Regions from separate parts of the Homo sapiens genome. Here region 1 is linked to region 2. The links are contacts of gene promoters, found by promoter capture Hi-C in human tissues and cell types (Jung and others, 2019). All regions are on one chromosome and are shown on one strand. Each heading gives the region's core, a stretch centred on a gene start or on the middle of the fragment in contact. The rest is flanking DNA. Distances are from core to core; before and after follow the strand shown.

Region 1 (5,068 bases), core at 1,422-3,921, 290 kb after region 2:
GTCCCCCAGGCTGGAGTGCAATGGCGCAATCACGGCTCACTGCAACCTCTGCCTCCCAGGTTCAAGTGATTCTCCTGCCTCAGCCTCCTGAGTAGCTGGGATTACAGGCGCCTGCCACCACGCCCAGCTAATTTTTGTATTTTTAGTAGAGATGGGGGTTTCACCATGTTGGCCAGGCTGGTCTCGAACTCCTGACCTCAGGTGATCTGCCCGCCTCAGTCTTCCAAAGTGCTGGGATTACAGGAGTGAACCACCGCGCCTGGCCTGTTTGTTTTAAAGACAGAGTCTTGCTCTTGTCGCCCAGGCTGGTGTGCAAGGGCGCAATTTCGGCTCATCGCAACCTCCTTCTCCTGGGTTCAAGCGATTCTCCTGTCTCAGCCTCTGGAGCAGCTGGGATTACAGGCGGCCGCAACGGCACCCAGCTAATTTTTCTATTTTTAGTAGAGACGGGGTTTCACCATGTTGGCCAGGCTGGTCTCAAACTCCTGACCTCAGGTGATTCATCCGCCTCAGCCTCTCAAAGTGCTGGGATTCAGGCGTGAGCCACTGTGCCCAGCATTTTTTTTTTTTTAAGATGGAGTCTTGCTCTGTTGCCCAGGCTGGAGTGCCATGGCAAGATCTCAGCTCACTGCAACCTCTGCCTCCAGGATTCAAGCAATTCTCCTGCCTCGGCCTCCCAAGTAGCTGGGATCATAGGCGCGCGCCACCACGCTCGGCTTATGTTTGTATTTTTAGTGGAGACGGGGTTTCACCAGACCTCAAGCGATCCACCCACCTCAGCCTCCCAAAGTGCTGAGATTACAGGCGTGCCACCACACCCGGCAAGGCCTGCACTGCTTATGAGTACCAATATAAATATTTGTGGAGTTGAAAGGAAAAAAATTCTTGTGGAGTTGAACCAATTAAATGGCCTCTTTATCCCCTTCCTATGAAGCAGCCAAGATGGCAGAACTTTGAAGTTTTTTTTTTTTTTTTTTTTTTTTTTTTTGATACGGAGTCTCGCTCTGTCGCCCAGGCTGGAGTGCAGTGGCGTGATCTCGGCTCACTGCAAGCTCCGCCTCCCGGGTTCATGCCATTCTCCTGCCTCAGCCTCCCGAGTAGCTGGGACTACAGGCGCCCGCCACCACGCCCGGCTAATTTTTTGTATTTTTAGTAGAGACAGAGTTTCACCGTGTTAGCCAGGATGGTCTCGATCTCCTGACCTCGTGATCTGCCCGCCTCGGCCTCCCAAAGTGCTGGGATTACAAGTGTGAGCCACCGCGCCCGGCCTGAAGTTTCATCTCATACATTCATCCCTTCTCCAAGTCAAGGTGCCTGGGACCAGGCAATTTCAAGTTACTCGGGAGAAGAAAAAGTCTAGAAGAGACCTGGTGATGGTCCAAAAAGATCTGGGGTAAGAGCGGGGAGCAGAGGCAAAGATGAAGCCAGGAAGTAGGGCCCAGCCTTCAATTAAGCCTCTCCCTAATGTGGGCAAAGGAGGGTATCAAAGGCCCCAGTGTCCAGATTCAAACACAGGAGTTAAGATGGAATTAAGACTTTTGTTTCTGCAACTTAAAAAATAAGGTTATTTTTAAAACCCGGTTATTTTACATCCACTACCCCTTTGGGTACTGCAAAGTGGTTTCCATGACTGGTTTTTGACATCAACGATTGACAACTAGCCCCTCAACTGGAACATATACACAAAATATAACTGTTTCCTAGGCCAGATTCTGAAGAATGTCTGTCAACTCCCCAAATGCAGTCACAGAGCTGCCAAGAGGAGGCAAGAGCACTGTCATGAACTAAATCTAGGATCTTCAACAACTTTTTCAGAAACAAGAATCCCCTTAATTGTAGCTGTTAAACCATCAAAATTAGAATCACCTTAAATTTTCTTTTCTCCAGTTTTCCCCCTCTCCTGCAGTTCTCCAAGACTCTCTTTCAGGTGCCAAAATGGAGGAATGCATCAATACATTTTCCTTGCTGGTTAGAGGTTTTCTCTCGGGGCACAGAGCATGTGGTTTTGCATTTACCGGGGCATGGTTTGTTGCAAAGGCAGGGTTCTCATTCTCAGGAGCACATGGGACAGCAGCAAAAGGAGCAGCAGAAGAGCAGGCTGCCAGAGGATGTCTTCTGCAGAGGAGCCTGTGCACGGGCAGCGAGAAGGAGAGCGGCGCGGCGCTCAGTTCCAGCCTCTGCTGGCCTGTGCACTCCTGGGAATAACTAACTCCTTCAAAGGCCCGGTCAATGGCTGCAGTCAGTTCCTTTCTGCATCTTCTTAGTTTTTCAGACATTTCTCCTAAAAGCGACCATGTCTTTATGTAATGCATTGGAAATGCACAGGACAACACAATAATGTTACAAATGAGGCTGCAAACTACCCCTGAATGGCCACGATTTCCTGGAGCTTGGCCCTGGCTATAGCAGGACCCACAACCCTCGGGCTTTCCTCCTGGAGTAGGCGGTTCTCGGCTCTCGCGGAGGAACCCGCCATCTGCCAGAAGCCCCAAAGACGCCCCGCCCCACTTCCCACAGCTTCCTGGCCCGCCCCGCCGCTGCCTCCCGCCCCACCGCGGCTCCCAGGCCGCTGGCCCTACCGGCACCCCCCCTTTGGCGAGTCGGCAGCCACGTCCTTGTCCTCACCCGCAGCGCAGTGACGCCGACCCATCCAACGGTCATCGCATGCGCGTGCCCCGCGCAGGCCCCAAACCCCCACGGATTAGGTTGAAGGTCAGACAAAAAATCCCGGACCCATACGTCCGGTTCCTTAAGGCCTTGCCCACACGCAGCGGCTGGCCCCGCGGTGGGAGTGGGGACGGGGCTTTCGAATGGGGGCCCCGGGAAGAGTCTTGGCAGGGATGAGGAAAGAACCCGTTCTAGAAAGCATCTGGGTAACACCAAAATGTATTACTACCCTAAATCGCCATGAACTGGAGCCCTTTCCCGGCTAACTCCCACAAAGATTTCTGTTCTCAAGCCAACATGGAAACAACTAGACGGGACACAGCACCGGGCAGTTTTATGTACTGACTTCCTTTAAGCGTTATCTAATAAAAAGTGTGTTATCTAATAAAAGTTCCACACAGTATTTAACCGTCTTAATTCATCTAGGGTAGCAGGGGATATAACAGAACTGCTGGGTTCCACAGGAGGTTGAGGGGCCAGGATCCCCAACACTAGATATCTTCCTTAGCGGGGAGAAAGCTGGAAATTACAAGATGACTCAACGGAGAAATGGGCTTCAGTGGGTAACTTTCAGAAAATTATAAACCCATATCAGTGCACATAGCGAGGGAAAGGGGAGTTTACTTGAGGTTTGGGTTACTGTGAGCAGACTACTTGGGGTGACTAGTATTGGCATCAGAACCAGAAATCCAGGCGCTCAGGGCAGCCCTGCAGGTGGGGTGGGTCTCCAGGCTGCTCCATACTCAGCGCCTGTGTTCCTCTCCATTCTTCGGGATCCATCAGACATACTCCATTGAGTACCCCCATCCCACCCCCTTTTCAGCTTCACAGGTTTCACAGAAATTTCTCACCACCTGTTTAAAAATAAAAATAATTCAGCCTCTTGACATAGCTTCTTCTAGGTAAACGGTCTTCTTTTTTTTTTTTTGTTTCCTTCTGCTCATAAAAGAAGGGTATTTCCTTGTCTGGTTTTTAGACAGAACACTAGCAGTCTGCAGAGTGTCAAAGATGTTCTCCTGGGGGATTACACTGGCGCTACAGGGTGGCAGGATCGTGGAGTCAGCATTAGTTGGTGTCCATGCTGCAAGCCTCATCATCCCCAAAGCCCTGCTGAGAGCTGCTTGGTCGTGTCCCTCCATCAGAGGAACCAGAACTGCTAAGTGAAGGTGTCTTATAAAATTCATCATCTCGACGTTGGTAAAATAGCACATAAGCTGCTTTAGTCTGAAATACAAGAGGGGGAAAGACCATTCAGTGCTTGGAAAAATCACCCATTTTCCCCAGCTTTTCTCTAGCTGTCCAAAACCCTCAAGGATCTGCCATATCCACACAGAGGAGACCCTTCCACCTGAGGATGGCTGCCCCTGCCAGGCAGCAGGAAATGGAAGGAGCCTTGTGCAGAGAACTCTGAGGAGAGCTGAGCTTCTCATTTATGAAGGTCCCTGAAGGAATGCCAGCCAGCTCTGTCACACCTAGCTCCCACTATCACATCAGGATGATGAAATAACCAACTAGCCTGATAGAGGCTCTTCCCAGCTTTAATCCATAACGACATGAGGAAGAACCACATATCATGGCCTACTCACCACTATCTGATCCTCAGAGGCCAGGGACACGTTGCTATCATCAAAGTAATACCATTTACCATTCAGTTTGTTCTTCGCATATGCAGTGTCTGCCAAGTCAACAAAGAAAATACTCTAGCGGTCTCCAGAGAATTAATCTGGCTAGCTTATTAGGCTTGCACTAAATAAACACAAAAATCCCCAAAACAAAACCCCTGAAATTAAAAAAGTTTACAGTGTGTGTCTTAACAACCAAAAAACAACTCACCTTCTTTTCTAATCTGTTCCTTCTCAAAAAGGATCAAAAGGCTAAAAATGGAGCTGTCAGGGACCAAGATTTTAAACTATAATTTTGGGAAACTAATAGAAAAAACAGAGCTATTCAGTGCCAATCTTCAGGATGGCTATGTGCAATAATCCAAAACCAGGGAACCCATAAAAGGAGCTGAAACTTCTAAGATTTAAGCAAAACAATAGCTCTCACAAGGACATGCCAAGTCAGTCTCCCCCATTGCATCTAGGCAGGTGGCTACTAACATCAACAGAATGCTTAGTGCCTCGGGAGCCTACAGAATAATCCCAGTTAGAGGAACATTGGGTGTTTGGGTTTGCAGAGCTGGGATGTGAACAACATACCTTAGTCTCCATATCCAAAAAAAAAAAAATTTATCTTTCTCTAAAACTAGGAGTCCAGAGTCTGTGGTTAGGTAACAGTTTCCCACAATGATTCAAGCATTTCCCAGAGGCAATGCTTCTTGTCTTGACTTTACACTATTCCCAAGCAGGATGTGTTTATTACAGCAATCCCAGCCCAGTTCCTGCTCCACCCAGACTCT
Region 2 (4,866 bases), core at 1,718-4,217:
GAGCAAGACCCTGTCTTAAACAGGCCAGGCGTGGTGGCTCATGCCTGTAATCCCAGCACTTTGGGAGGCCGAGGGGGCGGATCACCTGCAGTCAGGAGTTTGAGACCAGCCTGACCAACATGGTGAAACCCCACCTCTACTAAAATATACAAAAAATTAGCCAGGCCTGGTGGTAGGTGCCTGTAATCCCAGCTACTCTGGAGGCTGAGGCAGGGGAATAGCTTCAACCCAGAAGGCAGAGGTTGCAGTAAGCTGAGATCGCGCCACTGCACTCCAGCCTGGGCACGACAGAGCGAGACTGTCTAAAAAAAAAAAAAAAAAAAAAAAAGGCCAGGCACAGTGGCTCACTCCTGTAATCCCAGCACTTTGGGAGGCCAAGGCAAGGAGATCGAGAACATCCTGGCTAACACAGTGAAACCCCATCTCTACTAAAAAACAAATACAAAAAAATTAGCCGGGCGTGGTGGCAGGCACCTGTAGTCCCAGCTACTCAGGAGGCTGAGGCAGGAGAATGGCGTGAACCCGGGAGGCAGAGCTTGCAGTCAGCCGAGATGGCACCACTGCACTCCAGCCTGGGCGACAGAGCGAGACTCCACCTCAAAAAAAAAAAAGAATACAGATCAATAGAAGGCCTGGATTTGGTAGTATGTATTGTCATGGCATCAAAGGGCCAGGCTTTTAAAAGACTGAGAAATTCTGGTTTCTGATGTGGTTGTGAAATTCCCACAGCTGACAGCAGGTGGAGCAGCCCTGCAACCTGCTTGCTTTCTGTTGTCTGGCAATGAGCTATCAGTACCTGTGCTTAGTGGTAGGCCTAGTTCAGGTAATAGGTGTAAGAATGGAGTTCAGGAAAATAGGTTAAGCAAAGTACAGATTTTATGGTGATCAAATTCTAGTTTTTAAAAGGCTAGAGGGGCCGGTCGCGGTGGCTCATGCCTGTAATCCCAGCACTTTGGGAGGCCAAGGCGGGCGGATCACGAGGTCAGGAGTTTGAGACCAGCTTGGCCAACATGGTGAAACCCCATCTTTATTAAAAATATAAAAATTAGCTGGGCGTGGTGGCACGTGCCTGTAATCCCAGCTACTTGGGAGGCTGAGGCAGGAGAATTGCTTGAACCCGGGAGGCAGAGGTTGCAGTGAGCCGAGATGAAGCCACTGCACTCCAGCCTGGGTGACAGAGCAAGACTCTGTCTCGGGGAAAAAAAAAAAAGGCTAGAGGGAAATAGTCTCAACTTCATTCCAGAAAAGGTATGAGAAAGCCATGAGATCCTTGGTAAAATTATGGTTCTGTTGGTTGGTTTATTATATTTAAGAATTTAGGAGATTTGGTCTGGGTGTGGTGCCTTATGTCTGTAATTCCAGCACTTTGGGAGGCCAAGGTGGGTGGAACACCTGAGGTCACGAGTTTGAGACCAGCCTGGCCAACATGGTGAAACCCTGTCTCTACTAAAAATATAAAAATTAGCCGGGCATTGTGGCGGGCACCTGTAGTCCCAGCTACTTGGGAGGCTGAGACAGGAGAATTGCTTGAACCCGGGAGGCGGAGCTTTCGGTGAGCTGAGATCACACCACTGTACTCCAGCCTGGCGACAGAGCGAGACTCTGTATCAAAAAAAAAAAAAAAATTATAATTAAAAAATTAAAACTAAATAATAATAAATAAAAATACAAAAAAAAAAATTGGCCCGCCATGGTGGCGCATGCCAGCTACTTGGTAGGCTGAGGCAGGAGAATTGCTTGAACCCGGAAGGCAGAGGTTGCAGTGAGCCAAGATCGCGCCACTGCACTCCAGCCTGGGCGACAGAGTGAGACTCCGTCACACACACACAAAAAATCTTAGAAGAAAGAGGTGGGCCTGCCCTTGGAGCCCCTGGCCTGCCTTGACTTGAGGGGACTAGAAAATGCAGACTATGCTTTGCTATGGGGAAGGGAGAGGAGATGGGAGTAGAGGTAGTGGGGGTCTTAACCAGGGTAGGGAGAAACCACCAGTGTGACCTGCCTTAAAAGTGTTGCTCTTGCCTGCAAGTCCACCTCGGGGAGGGGGGTCAGCTTCTGCCCTGAGGGCGTGTAGTAATCTCTTCCTGAGGATAACCAGCTCTAGAAGAGCAGGGATGCCTTGGCACTTGACCACTGGTAGGTATGTCCTCCCCCCACCCCCGTTTTTGGTGATAATCTGTTTAATTTTTCTCTGAGGTAATGGTGTCTCAGTTATGGAAGAGTCCCTTCCCGCCTCTTCACACGTGCCAGCTTTGATGCAAGGAGTGTTCCATATACCTGAGCACTGGTTCATTCCTGCGGGCTGCCATGGGGGGCTCACTTTCCTGATGCCAGGGCTCCTCCAGGATGCCCCCTCTGACGGCCTATGAAACCTTGCACATCAGGCAGCTTCTTCCTAAGGCCTGCCTGACTCCGGCGAGACTTCCCGGGAGATCCGGACCGACCGCGGAACCGAGCTCCAAGAATGCCTGCGAGGAGGCTGTGGGTCCTACCCTATCGCCGCTTACGCAGTCCCAGCCTCCGCGGCGCCCCCAAATGCCGCACTGTTGAGTCATCTCAGCGCTGCCTCCTCCGCGCTGCGCTCCCCACCCCCGCTCCTGGAGCAAGAAGATGCAGACGATACTTTTCCCGGAGGCAAGAGGGCGTCTTCACGCAGGCACCGAGAAGCTCCCACTAGTGTATGCCTTAATGGTGCCGCTCTTGTCCGCGTCTACGCTTGGGACCTTGGCTTCTGACTTGGAGAGTGTACAGCTCTGCCCGACGGCAACCCAGCTTGGGAAGAGAAGCCCCAGCGTGGGCTGGGGCTCAAGGCGCAGGAAGGCCGAGCCCGGCGCGGACGCAGGCGGCTCCGGGCGGGCTCAGCACCCCCAGGCACCGTCTCCTAGTGACCGCGGCGCTCGCGGGCCTGGCGGCCGTTGTCCGGGCGACTGCGCAGCGCGGGCACCCCCGCGGCCCCTCCCCTGGGCGCGCGCGCGACCTGGGTGCCATGGCGGCAGCGGCGGTGACAGGCCAGCGGCCTGAGACCGCGGCGGCCGAGGAGGCCTCGAGGCCGCAGTGGGCGCCGCCAGACCACTGCCAGGCTCAGGCGGCGGCCGGGCTGGGCGACGGCGAGGACGCACCGGTGCGTCCGCTGTGCAAGCCCCGCGGCATCTGCTCGCGCGCCTACTTCCTGGTGCTGATGGTGTTCGTGCACCTGTACCTGGGTAACGTGCTGGCGCTGCTGCTCTTCGTGCACTACAGCAACGGCGACGAAAGCAGCGATCCCGGGCCCCAACACCGTGCCCAGGGCCCCGGGCCCGAGCCCACCTTAGGTCCCCTCACCCGGCTGGAGGGCATCAAGGTGAGGACCTCCCTGCCCCGCCGCGCTCCAGGCCCTGCACGGCTGAGCCCGAGAGGACCGGCGCTCAGCCCGGGTCCCCACGCTGCCCCCGGCGCTGCTCTGCGTCGGTCCCGCGCGCTCCCACTCACTCGCCTGCTGTCGCTCTCCGGGCCGGGGCGACTTGGCCCTTCTTGGGCAGCGCGGTCTGGCGCCCCAGCTGCCCGCTGTGCGCCTTTTCCTTAGGTGGGGCACGAGCGTAAGGTCCAGCTGGTCACCGACAGGGATCACTTCATCCGAACCCTCAGCCTCAAGCCGCTGCTCTTCGGTAAGTCCGCCAGATACTCCTGGGAAGGGCCAGGGGCTGCGGTTTGGTGGCCACCTTGAGGCTCGTTGTGACCACGTGACCTCTATTTTGAAAATGGCTGCTTCAGAGCAGCCCTTCCAGAGGATTACCAAAGTGAAGGACCTTCCCCGTCCTCGAAATAGGGTAACACTCCCTCTTATCCCAACTCCCTGCAGTCCATTCTTCCATCACAGGGCTGGCAGGGTGAGCCTGAGGCTGGTGTCTAAACGTTTCATTGCACCTGTCTTCCGTGCCACCATTAATTCTGTCACCTTCTAGAACTGGGAGGAAGGTGGGAGACTGATAACCAGCTTTCTGCCGACCTCAGGACCTCTGGGGAAAATCCCACTGCCGAAGTGGGCCTTGTGGTCTGATGAGAAGCAGGCCGTCCAAATGTAGATAAACTGGTACCCCCCCAGCCTCCTCCACTGGAGTACCAGTCAGAGGCTCAGCTTTTGCTGCCAGCACTCTGAGATTCTTCTTAAGGTGAAGTCTTTGTTCAGCCATCATGGGCAAAGCTTTCTAGGGTGACTCCAGTTGGAGCCACAACATAGCTCATCGTTTCTGAGCTCTAGTTATGTGCTTGCCTTCATATGATTATTTCATTTAATTCCTGCAACCCCTCTGTGAAGTGGGTGTAGATCCTACTCAGGCCAGTGAGGGGGAAAGTTAGGGACAGAGAGCTGCTGTGGCTTGGCCAGGCTGACACGGTTACTTCAGTGGTGAAGCTAGGATTAGAACCCACATAGCCTGCCTCTAAGGCCTATGCAGTAAAGCCACAGTGCGAGCTGTGAAGACCCCAGAGTCCTTCAAAGACCACCAGTGTCAACTGGGTGGGGACCCCTAGTCCCATGGACATTGTCCAGGGTGTTTGTGTAGCCCAGCCCTGGGTACCTGGCCTCCGTGACAAACATATTTGCAAACCCAGGGCCATTCCTGCCTGCCGGGGGATGGAATGGGTTAGGAGCTGGGGCCAAAGTAGAACATCTGAGCACAAGTCATTACCTCCAAGGCAGAGGGTCCTGGTTGGGGATTATGCCTAGACCTGTCAGAATGATGTCATATGCATGCTGTTTGTAGGGAAATAGATTATGCTGTCAGTCCTGTTGTGGGAGAGGCACCCAAAGCTGGTTGTTGTTATTATTACTATTACTATTGAGTAACGTTGAAGTCTGTGCCAGGCACTATTTTAGGTGCCAGGAACACA

Evidence for each region. Contacts are between HindIII fragments. The study calls those that stand out against the background at their distance.
Region 1: a contact is called between the fragment with the promoter of C3orf62 here and the fragment with the promoter of P4HTM in region 2, in 1 of the 25 tissues and cell types used here (small bowel).

What each region holds. Positions count from the first base shown.
Region 1 is chr3:49,274,561-49,279,628 of GRCh38, forward strand. C3orf62 (chromosome 3 open reading frame 62) reads right to left here and starts at 2,672. Exons shown (of 3, transcript NM_198562.3): 1 at 1,867-2,672. The coding sequence starts at 2,312. It overlaps USP4 (ubiquitin specific peptidase 4), which reads right to left. Exons shown (of 22, transcript NM_003363.4): 21 at 4,254-4,342; 22 at 2,584-3,891. The coding sequence ends at 3,733. RefSeq lists an enhancer at 2,286-2,355 and a silencer at 2,496-2,695. The HindIII fragment of the contact is 22,568 bases long and covers 1-5,068 here.
Region 2 is chr3:48,987,274-48,992,139 of GRCh38, forward strand. P4HTM (prolyl 4-hydroxylase, transmembrane) reads left to right here and starts at 2,968. Exons shown (of 9, transcript NM_177939.3): 1 at 2,968-3,337; 2 at 3,560-3,641. The coding sequence starts at 2,984. It overlaps LOC124909376 (a long non-coding RNA gene), which reads right to left and starts at 2,599. Exons shown (of 2, transcript XR_007095903.1): 1 at 2,275-2,599. RefSeq lists enhancers at 1,688-2,251, 2,252-2,814, 2,562-2,721, 3,379-3,940 and a silencer at 2,832-3,211. The HindIII fragment of the contact is 19,056 bases long and covers 1-4,866 here.